Linked DNA regions of Homo sapiens: region 1 is linked to region 2. Evidence: promoter capture Hi-C in human tissues and cell types (Jung and others, 2019). All regions are on one chromosome and are shown on one strand. Each heading gives the region's core, a stretch centred on a gene start or on the middle of the fragment in contact. The rest is flanking DNA. Distances are from core to core; before and after follow the strand shown. Region 1 overlaps EFCAB13 (EF-hand calcium binding domain 13). Region 2 holds the start of EFCAB13 (EF-hand calcium binding domain 13).

Region 1 (6,682 bases), core at 1,655-4,154, 51 kb after region 2:
GTCACGCTCTGTCACCCAGGCTGGAGTGCAGTGGCGTGATCTCAGCTCACTGCAACCTCTGCGTCCTGGGTTCAAGCGATTCTCCTGCCTCAGCCTCTTGAGTAGCTGGGATTACAGGCATGCATGACCATGCCCGGCTAATATTTGTATTTTTAGTAGGGATGGGGTTTCAACATATTGGTCAGGCTGGTCTTGAACTTCTCACCTCAGGTGATCCACCTGCCTCAGCCTCCCAAAGTGCTGGGATTACAGGTGTGAGCCCCTGTGCCCGGCCTCTGTGTCTATTTTTATACATACTGTTTTGGTTGCTGTATTAGTCTTTTCTCATGCTGCTAATAAAGACATACCCGAGACTGGGTAATTTATAAAGGAAAGACATTTAATTGATTCACAGTTCCACATGGCACTTTATGTCTTTTCTTTGGAGATTTTAATTCATTTACATTCAAGGTAGTTATTGATATGGAAGGATTTTACTACTGCCATTTTGTTAATTGTTTTCTGCTTGTTTCATAGATCCTTTGTTTCCTTATTTTTCTCTTCTTTTGTGACTGATTTTTCTCTGTTGATTTTTTTTTACTTTTTTATCTTTTGTGTATTTACTGTAGGTTTTTGATTTGTGGCTACTCTGAAGCTTACAAAATATCTTGTAGTTATGACAGGCAATTTTAAGCTGATAGCAAGTTAGCTTTGCTTGCATAAACAAACTATGCTTTTACCTCATCTCTCCTTCTGCATTTATAATTTTTGATGTCACAATTTACAGATTTTTATATTGTTTCCCTTAACAAATCATTGTAGCTTTTATTATTTTTAACCTTCATACTATGTAAGTGAAGTGCACACCACCATTATAGTATTAGTGTATTCTGACTTTGACTGTGTACTTACTTTTACCAGTGAGTTTTACACATTTATTTTTTGTGTTACTAAACAGCATCCTTTTCTTTTGGCTTGAAGAACACTTTTTGAAATTTCATGTAAGACAAATATAGGGGATGAACTCTTTCAACTTTTGTCTGGGAAAGTCTTTATCTTCATTTCTGAAGGACAGTTTTTCTAGGTACAGTATTATTGGTTGGCAGTTTATTTCCTTCAGTACTCTGAATATATAGTCCATTCTCTATGGACCCATAAGGTGTCTGCTGAGAAATTTGCTGTCCTTATTGGAACGTATATGTTATTTACTTTTGCTATTTTCAGAATCTCCCTCTTGTTCTTGATATTTAACAGTTTGATTATAATATGTCTTGGTGTAGTCTTGTTTGAATTCATCTGATTAGAGGCATTTGGCCTTCCTGTACCTGGATATTTATATATTTGCCCAAATTTGGATTGTTTTCTGTTCTTCTTTATGTAAGTTTTCTACTCTTTTGTCTTTCTCTTCTCCTTCATAAACTCTTATAACTTGACTATTTTCTCTTTGGATGCTGTCCCATAAATCCTGTAAGCTTTCCCCATTATTTTTCATTCTTTTTATTTTATTCACCGCAGACTATATATTTTCAAATAACTTGTTGTCAGGTTCACAGATTCATTCTTGTGCTTGATCAGTTATGTTGTTGATGTTCTCTATTGTATTTTGCATTTCTTTCATTACACTTTTCAGCTCTTGATTTTTGTTTATTTATTTTCTTTTGTGTAATTTCAGTGTCTCTGTAAAATTCTGTTTTTGGTCATTTATTGTTTTCCTGATTTCACTGAATTTTTTTCTCTGTATGTCATTAATTTTATTCCCTGAACTTTCTCTAGACAATTAGTTTGAATTCTGTCAGGAAGTTTCTGTATCTTCATTTCTTTGGGGTCAGCTATCAGGAGATTATTGTGCTCTTTTGGTAGTATTATGTCTCCTTGATTTTTCATGTTTCTTGTTGCCTTATGTTGATGTCTCTGCATTTGAAGGACTGGGAAAGCCCTTAATCAGTGAGAATCAGAGATTCTGGGCAGGCTGTTTGGTGTGGTCCAAAAGCCTAAATCAGAAGTGTCAAAGATTATATTTTTACCTGCTCACTAACCTATTTATCTGATACATAGTGCACTTAGAGATACATATATAGCACCATCTTTAAGTATTTTCAGACTTTAATATTAAAATATTTTCATTTAATTATTTTCAATTGTTAATTCTCATAGAGTCTAAGATAAGAAACTTTTTTATTTCCTCTAGGCAAAATTTATTCATAGTTGAGATTATATTGCTGCTGCGTGACAGTCTCATAGAGTTGTTTTGAGGATCAAATATTATAACATTTGAAATACTTTAAAATGTGTTATTAAAATGTAAGATAAGATTCTGAAACATCAGATAAATTTTGTAAATGAAGTCTCAGTTTGGGGCATTGTGTTAATAATTTTCTAAAGATGTTGTTTTATATATGAAGTTATTTTTTCCTCCACAAATACCAAGAATATTTAGGAGAGTAATTACTTAAGTTCTAATTTTATAAATAAAATCTCCCCTTTCCTCATAGTTCTGCCTTTTATAAGTAAGGAATTTCTATCTGTATTAGCTTATTAATCTATTATCTTTGTCAATTGGGAAGGAGTGGGGAATGAGAACCATATACTTCATTAGGCTATCATTTTAGTTTTACTGTAACTTTAAATAGCTTTGGATGGGAATATGTAAATATATTAAAGCAGCACATTACATTTGACCTAGTTAATAGTCCAATCTTTTGACTGTCAGTTCTTTAATTTTTTTGGTTTGTTTTATATGTTTAAGAAACTGATAATTTCTTGAATAGTTTTCATGAGGACTTAGTTGTTATTTTTGAAATGTATTGCAAATTATACAGGTAAATGAAATAATTGTATATTTCTCTTATTTAGCAATTACAGAAGGATCACCTTTGAATGAAATTACTTCAGACAGAAAGTTATCAAGTGTAGCAGGATGCTATCTAAAATATAAGAAGAAAAATAGTTTGTCTTCCAAACTCCCTGAACCTTCAATATCCAAAAAGTTAAATAAAAAAAGCAACCAATATTATAGCAAAATTATGGAGAATGATGACCTTGAATCTAAAAGACCAAAAAATACTTGGCAAATAAGAAAATTTCTGGGTGGGGTTGGCAGCAGTAATGTAGGAGTCCAAGAACCATATTCAAAGAATGGCATAAACTTTAAAAAACATTCAGAGAAGGGTGAAATTCATGACTCAAAGTCTAAACCACAAAGCTTGAAGAGTAGTACAAGCCTCAGTAAGTCTCTGGATAAAAGTGATATTTCTAGTATCCCAAAACTTCAGAAGCCAGCTGTAAGAAAGCATTCCAGTCTCCAAAAACAGGTTTCGTCTACGGAAAAAACTGCAATTAGTACTCTGGGTAAGTAAAAATCTAGGTTCTTGAGTTCTTCAGTCATCACAGAAATGAACAGAATGAATCAATTATTAGATAGTTGTAAGCATTTCAATTGTTAACACCCTGGGTAACCACCACTTCTTTTTTTTTTAATTTTTAAATTATTTATAGAGACAGGGTTACCCAGGCTGGTCTCAAACCCCTGGCCTCAAGCAATCCTCCTGCATTGGCCTCCCAAAGTGCTGGGATTATAGGCGTGAACCACCATGCCTATGCAAAAATTCTGGAAATGTACAGTAGTGATGGTGGTACAACTTTGTAAATGTGATTAATGCCACTGAATAGTATGTCTATTTTTTATTTTTTGAGTCAGAATCTCACTCTGTCAACCAGGCTGGAGTGTAGTGGCGTGATCCTAGCTCACTGCAGCCTCGACCTTTTGTGTTCAAGTGATCCTCCCACCTCCTCAGCCTCTCATGTAGCTGGGAGCATAGGAACATGCCACCACACCCAGCTAACTTTTTTTTTTTTTCATAGAGACGGGGGTCCCATAATGTTCCCAAGGCTGGTCTTGAACTCCTGGCCCCAAGTAGTGCTCCCGTCTTGGCCTCCCAAGGATCTGCGATTACAGGCATGAGCCACCACGTCCGGCCTGCCACTTCTGACACATAGACTAATGGATATAATATTGTGATTTTGATGATAATTCCTTTCCAGATGCCCTCTTTAGGGAGGAGCTTAACTTTTCCTGAGAAACTTATTCAGTGATTAATTGCAATCATTAATATTTCCTAGAAAGTAGAAGGCCTGGTTTCTTTTGGAAACGTTTATTTTGTAATTTATTAAACATTTAAACAAGTAGGAAATCTGTGTGAAATTTTTGCTTAGAGTGCTGTAATTTAAATATATAATATTCATAGTACTTCAGGTATTATCTCTTATGGAAGGAGAATATCAGGAAAAAATAATACTATATATCTAGGGCTCCAAGTCTTTATGATTTTTCTCAAAGATGAGCAATGGTTTCCCAACCAATATATTTTCTCTCCTTGTATTACTTTCATCATAGAAGCAGTGTGTGTGGAACCCAGTTAAAGATTTCTTCCTGTAGTCCTCTGCTGAAGTTACTTAAGTCATATTTATTCTCTTTTAAAAACTTACTGTCATATCACATTTAGTATTTAATGTAATAGATAAAATGATTGTTTAGTGAAAATTTTGTGATTCATACATTAGTGCATAATTCAAATAACTCAATGGAAAAAAGGAATGTGATCTATTAAGGAGGCACAGTGATTATCATCCTGATTCTGATTCCTTTACCAATGCACTGCTGCTACTTTGTGCCTCATTTGAATTTCTGAGAGTTATTTTTATTTCAAAAGAATTAAAACCTTGGTTAAAGGAATAATGAAACAGCAGACAGACATGGGTAGAAGAGGCTGTCAGAAGAAAGTGATATCTACCTTTCTCGTGTCACTAAAATAAAATGATGTCATCTACCACAGCCATACTTAATGTTCTGAATATAGAGAAGTATGAAATAGTTTATCTGGCATAACTTCCCAAAACAAATTAATGGTAATTGGACTTTTATGGAATATGACTGCCTGTATGATTTACATTAAAAAATTCTAACTTTTCATTTTTAAATAATTTCACATTCTTAAGAGTCACAAAAATAGTACAAACATTTCCATTAGGACATGATCTAAACCAGGAGATTAACACTGATGCAATACTGTTACTGATCTACAGACCTTATTCAAATTTGTCAGTTGTTCCATGAATGTTCTTTTTCAATTCCAGGATCTAATCCAGAATCACCCATTACATTTAGTTGTCACTTTTCTTTAGTCCCCTTCAGTCTGGGATGCTTCCTCAATTTTTCATGACCTTGACACTTTGAAGACTATTGACTAGTTGTCTTGTATAATACTCTTCATTTTGGATTTTTCTTTTATTCCTTCACAAATAAATTCAGGTTATGCATTTTTGGTCAGATTACCTCAGAAGTGATATTGTACCCATCTCAGTGCATCAGTAAGAAGCACATGACGTCTATGTGTATTTGCTTCTAAGATTTTATTTTTTGAAGGTTATGAACTGAAAACATGGTAGAGTAAATTAATGGGAGGGTGAAGAACTCTACATTTTTGCTTGGAATTCTTCAATTTAAACAAAACACTTCGGTATTTTTATTTCTTGGACTCATTAATTTTACACACACACATACACATACAAACACACACACACACACTCAGGCTGGAATGCAGTGGTGCGATCTCAGTGCACTGCGACCTCTGCCTCCCGGGTTCAAGTGATCCTTCTGCCTCAGCCTCTTGAGTAGCTGGGACTACACACATGCACCATCACACCCAGCTAATTTTTGTATTTTTAGTAGAGACAGGGTTTCACCATGTTGGCCAGGCCGGTCTCAAACTCTTGACCTCCAATGACCCACCTGCCTTGGCTTCCCGAAGTGCCGTGATTATAGGCAGGAGCCACCATACCTGGCCCCATTAATTTTATTTTAATCAGAAGCAAGCAGCATTGGCTGGGCCACTGGAACAGGCTGTTCCCCCAAACAAGTAGATTATAAATGTTTATAGAATGTTAGGACGGTTCTGTGTTTGAGCTGTAAGAGAAAGATTAAATATAATGTAATATAAACAGATATGGAGAGAAAAGCAGTCTTATAAAATCTATAAGGTAATATAAAATAGATAAAACTTGTTCTCTAATTTCTAAAGATTTTGAGTATTATTGCTTTTGACACATAAATTCTGTTGCCTAATAGTTCTCTACATTTTGTGTATTTAGAAAACTTCTGTGAAGCTATCAGTAAACTTCAAGAAAATTACATTGCAGCAGAAGAACTTCAGTCTATTTTGCCTTCAACAGGAATTAATTTATTAGATGAAGAATTCCAGAAGATTGTGACAGACACTAGTAGAAATGGTGAGAGACTGATAACACTGAAGTTTCTGAGAAAGTTAGATATTTTTATCGGATAGTATTAAATATTGGAGGAATTCCTCTCAATTAGAAATTAGGAATGGGACAGAATGGGTCATTCTAAAGAAAATTCAGATATAAAAATGGAAAATAGTAAAAAAAAATTCCTTTAAGTTCTGACCAAATGGATTGGTTTGGAGCCTTTCGTATTTCCAGATCATTTCAGTAAAGCTCTTCATCACTATCCCTATCTGTGCCTATTAATAGTAGGGTAGTGCTGGGGAGACTGATCCAGTTGTAGCGAGGTTCAGATGGCAAGACCACAATATCTAAGGGGTATGGATATATCTGCACAAATAGCCCAAGGATCCAAAGATTAATAATTGGAGATTACAAAATACGGGGGAATTTAGAGCCAGGT
Region 2 (6,574 bases), core at 2,711-5,210:
ACGTACCTCAACACAATAAAGGTCATATATGATAAGCCTACAGCTAACATTCTCAACAGTGAAAAGTTGAAGGCATTTCCTTTAAGATCAGGAACAAGAAAAGGATGCCCACTCTTACTGCTTTTTTTTTTTTCAACATAGCACTGGAAGTTCTAGTCAGAATAATTAAGCAAGAGAAATAAAAGGCATCTTAATAGGAAAGGAAGCATTGGAATTTTCTCTTTGTTGACAATATGATCTTATATATAGAAAACCCAAAAGACTCCACCAAAAAACTGTTAGAACTAATAAAGTCAGTAAAATTGCTGTACACAGTCAACACACAAAAATCAGCAGCATTTCTAGAGGCCAACAACAAATCCAAAAAAGAAATTAAGAAAATAATTCTACTTATATTAGCAAAAACCAAAACTGAAACAAAAAAGGTGTAAATTTAACCAAGAAAGTGAAAGATCTTTATACTAAAAACTAAAAAACACTGATGAAAGAAATTGGAAAAAACACAAATAAACGAAAAGACATCCCATGTTCTTGGAGTGGAATAATTAATATAATTAAAATGCCCATGCTACTCAAAGTGATCTATAGATTCAATGCAATTCCTATCAAAATTCCAGAGTTATTTTTCATGGAAATAAAAAAATCCTAAAATTCATATGGAACCGTAAAAGATCCCAAATAACCAAAGCAATCTTGAGCAAAAAGAACAAAGTTGGGCCAGGTGTGGTGGCTCACGCCTGTAATCCCAGTACTTTGGGAGGCCGAGGCGGGCAGATCATGAGATCAGGAGTTCAAGACCAGCCTGGCCAACATGGTAAAAAAAAAACCCCGTCTCTACTAATAATACAAAAAAATTAGCCAGGCGTGGTGGTGCGCGCCTCTAGTCCCAGCTACTTGGGAGGCTAAGGCAGGAAAATCACTTGAACCCAGGAGGTGGAGGTTGCAGTGAGCCGAGATTGTGCCACTGCACTCCAGCCTGAGAGACAGAGCCAGAATCCATCTCAAAAAAAAAAAAGCAAAAAAAAAACAAAGTTGAAGGCATCACAGTCCCTGACTTTAAAATAAACGACAAAGTTACAGTAATCAAAACAGCATGGTATTCCATAAAAACAGATGCATTGGCCAATAGAACATACTAGAGAGTCCAGAATTTACAGACAATTGAATTTTGATAAGGAGCCAAGAACACTCAATGGGGAAAGGAATCTCTTTGATAAAAACTGTTGGGAAACCATATATCCATGTGTAGAAAAATGAAATTGGACCCTTATCTCACACCGTATACAAAAGTCAAAATGGATTAAAGACTTACCTGTAAGACTGGAACTACTAGAAGAAAACATAGAGGGAAAGCTACTAGAAGAAAAAATAGAAGAAAGCCACTAGAAGAAAACAGGCGGAAAGCTCCACTACATTGGTCTGGGCATTTTTTTGGACATGACCTCAAGAACACAGGCGAGAAAACAAAAAATAAACACATGGAATTACATGAAACTAAAAACTTCTGCACATCAAAGGAAACAGTTAACAGAGTGAAGAGACAACCTGCTGAATGGGAGAAAATATTTACTAATTATACATCTGACAAGAGGTTAATATCCAAGATATACAAGAAACTCAGTAGCAAGAAAGCAAATAACCTGATTTTAAAAATAGACAAATAATCTGAATAGACTTTTAAAAAAAATTTTTTTTTGTAGAGATGAGGCTTCACTATGTTGCCCAGGCTGGTCTCAGATTCTTGGGCTCAAGCGGTCCTCCCACCTTGGCCTCCCAAAGTGCTGAGATTATGGGTGTGAGCCACCATGCCCAGCCTGACACAGCCATTCTTAAAAGAAGACATACAAATGGCCAACAGGTTTGCGAAAAAAAAAATCACTATTATTAGGGAAATGCAAAATAAGATTACAATATCACCTCACACCTGTTAGCATGGCTATTAAGCTGGGTGTGGTGGCTCACACCTGTAATCTCAGTACTTTGGGAGGCTGAGGTGGGCAGATTACTTGAGGGTCAGGCGTTTGAGACCACCCTGGCCAACATGGTGAAACGCCATCTCTACTAAAAATACAGAAATTAGCCAAGTGTGGTGGCACATGCTTGTAATCCCAGCTACTTGGGAGGCTGAGGCAGGAAGATTGCTTGAACCCAGGAATGGAGGTTGCAGTGATTTGAGATTGTGCCACTGCACTCCAGCCTGGGCAACAGAGTGACTCAATCTCAAAAAAAAAAAAAAAAAAAAAAAAAAAGAATTGCTATTATCAAAATGATGAAAAAAATGTGTTGCTGAGGATGTGGAGAAACCTTTTACACTGTTAGTGTTATTACAGCCATTATGGAAAACTATATGGAGGTTTCCCAAAAAATTAAAAATAGAACTACCATATGATCCAGCGATGCTATTTCTGGGCATATATTGAGTAACTGAAATCAGTATATCAAAGACTTATTTGCACTTCCATGTTCATTTCAGCATTATGCACAATCGCTGAGATAATGGAATCAACCTGTGTCCATCGATGGATGAATGGATAAAGAAAATGTAGTAAACATATGCAATGGATACTATTCAGCCTTAAAAAAGAATTTCTGTCATTTGTGACAACATGAATCAACATATGCAATGGATACTATTCAGCCTTAAAAAAGAATTTCTGTCATTTGTGACAACATGAATCAACTTGGAGGACATACTAAGTGAAAAAAGCCAGGCACAGAAAGACACATACCACATGATCTCACTTATATGTGGAATCTTAAAAAGTCAAACTCATAGAAGTAGACAGTAGAATAGTTGTTAGAGGCTGGAAAGGGACGGGGCGGGTAGGAGATGCAGGATGGGGAGATGCTGTTCAAAGGGTACAAGGTTCAGTCAGACAAAAGCAGCAAGTTTCTGAGATCTATTGCATAGTGTGGTGACTATAGCTAATAATAATATATCGTATATCTCAAAACTGCTAAGAGTAAATTTCAAATGTCTCACCATAAAAAACGTTAAACAAGGTGATGGATATGTTAAGCTTGACTTAGTCGTTCCATATTGTATACATATATTAAAATATAACATTGTACCCCATTAAATATTTACAATTATGATTTGTACATATATTTAATAATAATAAAAATCTAAATAAAATATTAAAGAATGCCTACAAAGCAAGGTTTAAGATGTAAATGAACACAGTAGTATCACGGAAGGGATTAAATATTGTAACATTTATTGAGCACTACGTATATATTTTTGAATTCCCACAACCCTGGAAGAATGAGAAAATCGAGACTCAGGGAGCGTTAAGTATTTTGCCCAACTGCATACGATAAATACATAGGAAAAACAAACACACAGAAGAAAACCAAACCAACCAAAGTATCTCTTTCAAAAGGAAACGACAGTCTCCTTAAAGGCAACCCGAGACAAATTTCAGCAAAGCCGTGGGACACATGGCCTTCGAGCTGCTGTCCATTATTGAGTAGCAGAAGCCAAGAAGGATGGAATGTTTTGGAAGAAAGGGGTCGGGGGTCGGGGTGTTCAAAGGACGGACCGAAGGTAAGATTGAAGTGGGGTCAGACCATGGCGGGACAGCGCACCGGAGAATGAACAGCGATTAGGGAAGAGTGGCGAGCGGGTGGCAAGGACGGAGGGCGGAATCCCGGCCGGGGCTGCGGGAGGAAAGCGCACGGACAGGAGCCCCACCGCTCGAATGCAGCGCCCGGCGGCTGGCCTCGTGAGGTCACAGGCCCTTACGAGGTGGGGCAGGCAGGCGCGGCCGCAGTGCCTTCCAGTCAGCGCGGAGGCGGTATTGAGTTCAGCCGCTCCCCACAGCCCCGGAGCCCCTGGGCGGTGGCGGTGGCCGCGGCAGCACCGGCTCGACAGCCGATAGGGTCCTGGGCCCGCTCCGCTCGGGGTGGTCGGTGGGCGGAGCGTCGGGCTCGGTCAGGTGACCGCGGGGGCGGGGCCGCGCGGCGCGGGATCCTGGGAAGGCTGCAGAGCTAGAGCAGCGCCGCCCGAGGGGCGGCAGGGGCTGACCACAGAGAGCGCGGGGGCCTCCAGCCGAGAGGAAGGGAGGGCAGCTCGGGCCGGTAGTGGGACCCTTGGGGGACAGAGGTGGGGAGGGGAGGCGAGACCCGCTGAGGAGTTGGGAGGGGAGCCTTCGAGGTGGAGGGTGGAGAATGCAGTAGGGTGCGAGGGAGGAAGGAGAACAGTGGTGGGGCTGGGTGAAGGAAGGTTCCAGAAAGGAACAGTGAGGGGACTGAGTGGGACAAAGGGGCAGATTGAAGGGTGACTGAGACTGATCAGGTGGTTCCTCAGAAATGGTGGTTGTTGTAGAAGGCTGGCGGTCCCGGGGGTGGTGTCACTTCCCTGCTCCTTCAGCGGGAGGCGGAGACCTCTATTAGCACACTCATTTCCATCTTGCGGGTCGTTCACTCGCTAGCTTACAGGTCCTCTTTCTTCCTGTAGAAGTCGTTGGCTTCGTAAGAGCAGGGTCTATGGGAAGCCTCCTCAGCGTGGGTTCTTGGAAGAGGTGGAGGTTCGTTCACTCGACGTTTGTTACACAAATATGAAAACAGGGTGACGAAAGTTTGAACGTTCATGAATGGCAGTAGCTGCAATGGAGTTGTGTATGCAGTTGGTATTAATGACGTTTTCAGTCCCTCTGGCGAGAGAAAAGCGAGCGAGTCGGGCGGCTTGTGAGGGAAATGTGGCATGAGAGGAAAGAGGAAGGTATTTTGTGAAAGGATGTCATACAGAGTCATGCTTCAGTGAAGACGCCTTTGTTTTTCTCATCTTAAAGCCTCACAGCCCCATTTTCCTCTCAGCTACTGCCTTATTTCTCTTAACAACGTAACTCCTTGAAAGAGCCTACCCTACTGGCTGGGTTCAATTTCTTTACCCCGTTCTCTCTTGTACTCACTCTGACGACATTGTCTCCTTACCACCCCACCCAGATGGCTCCTTTCAAGTTTGTCAGTGTCCTCCGTGTTGTGAAACCTAGCGAACCATTCAGTACTGATCTTAACCGCCCACCCCACCCCCCTTTTTTTTTTTTGAGACAAGGTCTCTGTCGTCCAGGCTGGAGTGCAGTGGTGCAATCATAGCCCACTGCAGCTTCAAACTCCTGGGCTCAAAAGATCCTCCTGGCTCAGTCTTTGGAGTAGCTGGGACTAAGGTCGCCATGTCCAGCTGATTAAAAAAAAAATTCTGTAGAGGTGGGAGTTTCACTGTTGCCCAGGCTGGTCTTGAACTCCTGGCCTTAAGCAGCCCTCCTGCTTAGACCCCCACCCCCGCATCAAAGTGTTGGGATTACCTGCATAAGCCACCATGCACAGCCTGATTGCTCACTCTTGAAGTACTTTCTTCACTTGGCATTCAGGAACCCAGACCTACCTGATTTCCCTCCTCACAGTAACCAGAGTGATCCTTTCAGAAAGAACTTCAGATTATGTAATCCTTCTCCTCAGAACTCTTTCAATGCTTGTCACTCCTTCAGAGTACAAGCCACAGTTCTTACTGTCATCTAGGGGTCCTCCATGATATGCCACTTTCACTTAGCCTCTCTGATCTCTCCTGCTTCAGCCTCCTGGGGCCTTCCCACTATTCCTTGAACATTCTTCTTGCCTCGGGGCTTTTGTACTTACTTTTCTTTCTGGCTGAAATGCTCTTCCCTAAGATATTAATCAGCTCCCTACTTCAGTTCTTGCAGGTCTGTACTCAAAAGTCTCCCTCTCAGTAAGGTCTTCCTTGGCCACCCATTCTGTTCCCTGCATCTCTTCCCCTATACTACATTTCATATTCCCCTCCCTGCTTTACTTTTTTTTTTGTACTTATTGCAGATAACATACAATATGTTTTATTTTTCTATTTTATTATTTCACTCCCTGACTAGAACATAAGCTTCATGAGGGCAGATTTTATATATATATAAACAAAATATATATATATATATATATATATATATATATATATATAGCATATATATATTTTGTTCATTGGTATATCCCTAGAGCCTAGGAGAGAACCTAGTGCACACTAAGCATGCAGACATATACGTTGAATTCATGGATAGAAAGGTGAATGGATAGATGACTGGAGAAAAGGGATACGACTCCCTCCATTTCTCTTGATTTGTTCCTGCAAGTTCACCGATAGAAGACAGGATTGAAATAGTTGAGAAAAATTATATTGTCAGAGTTACAGGGAATAGACTTTCTAAGTTAATTTTTTCTTTTAAGTTTGGAGAGGCTTATGCGGTACCTGATTCATCCAGCAAATTAAGACCTGCCAACTTTTTGATAATCTCGTCAATAAATTACAGAACAATTGTTCCTTTCAAGATTTATTCAAAACGTGTCAACTCTGCTTAATTAAGCACTTTGATGATTTAAGAAATCTTGGTGAGTAGCTTAGTAGGAAGGGAATTTGTTCATTCATCCCTCTCTCCCTCTCTTTTCCCCTCCCTCCATACCATTCCTCCTTTCCTCTACTCTTTCCTTCATTATATATATACCATTGTATTTGATACTGTGAGAAATAATTTTAAGAATGATAAGTTACCAGTCCCAGTTCTTTATAAAT

What was found. The method cuts DNA at HindIII sites, captures the fragments that hold promoters and counts their contacts. A contact is called where the count stands out against the background at its distance.
Region 1: a contact is called between a fragment that was not itself captured here and the fragment with the promoter of EFCAB13 in region 2, in 1 of the 25 tissues and cell types used here (mesenchymal stem cells).

What each region holds. Positions count from the first base shown.
Region 1 is chr17:47,371,640-47,378,321 of GRCh38, forward strand. It overlaps EFCAB13 (EF-hand calcium binding domain 13), which reads left to right. Exons shown (of 25, transcript NM_152347.5): 12 at 2,833-3,327; 13 at 6,127-6,264. Among named protein-coding and RNA genes, the nearest start is that of EFCAB13, 51 kb to the left of the region's middle. The HindIII fragment of the contact is 5,598 bases long and covers 106-5,703 here.
Region 2 is chr17:47,319,995-47,326,568 of GRCh38, forward strand. It overlaps EFCAB13 (EF-hand calcium binding domain 13), which reads left to right and starts at 3,961. Exons shown (of 25, transcript NM_152347.5): 1 at 3,961-4,080; 2 at 4,460-4,529; 3 at 6,232-6,393. It overlaps EFCAB13-DT (EFCAB13 divergent transcript), which reads right to left and starts at 3,907. Exons shown (of 3, transcript NR_110880.1): 1 at 3,695-3,907. RefSeq lists a silencer at 3,690-4,099 and enhancers at 4,440-4,529, 4,570-4,749. The HindIII fragment of the contact is 8,264 bases long and covers 1-6,574 here.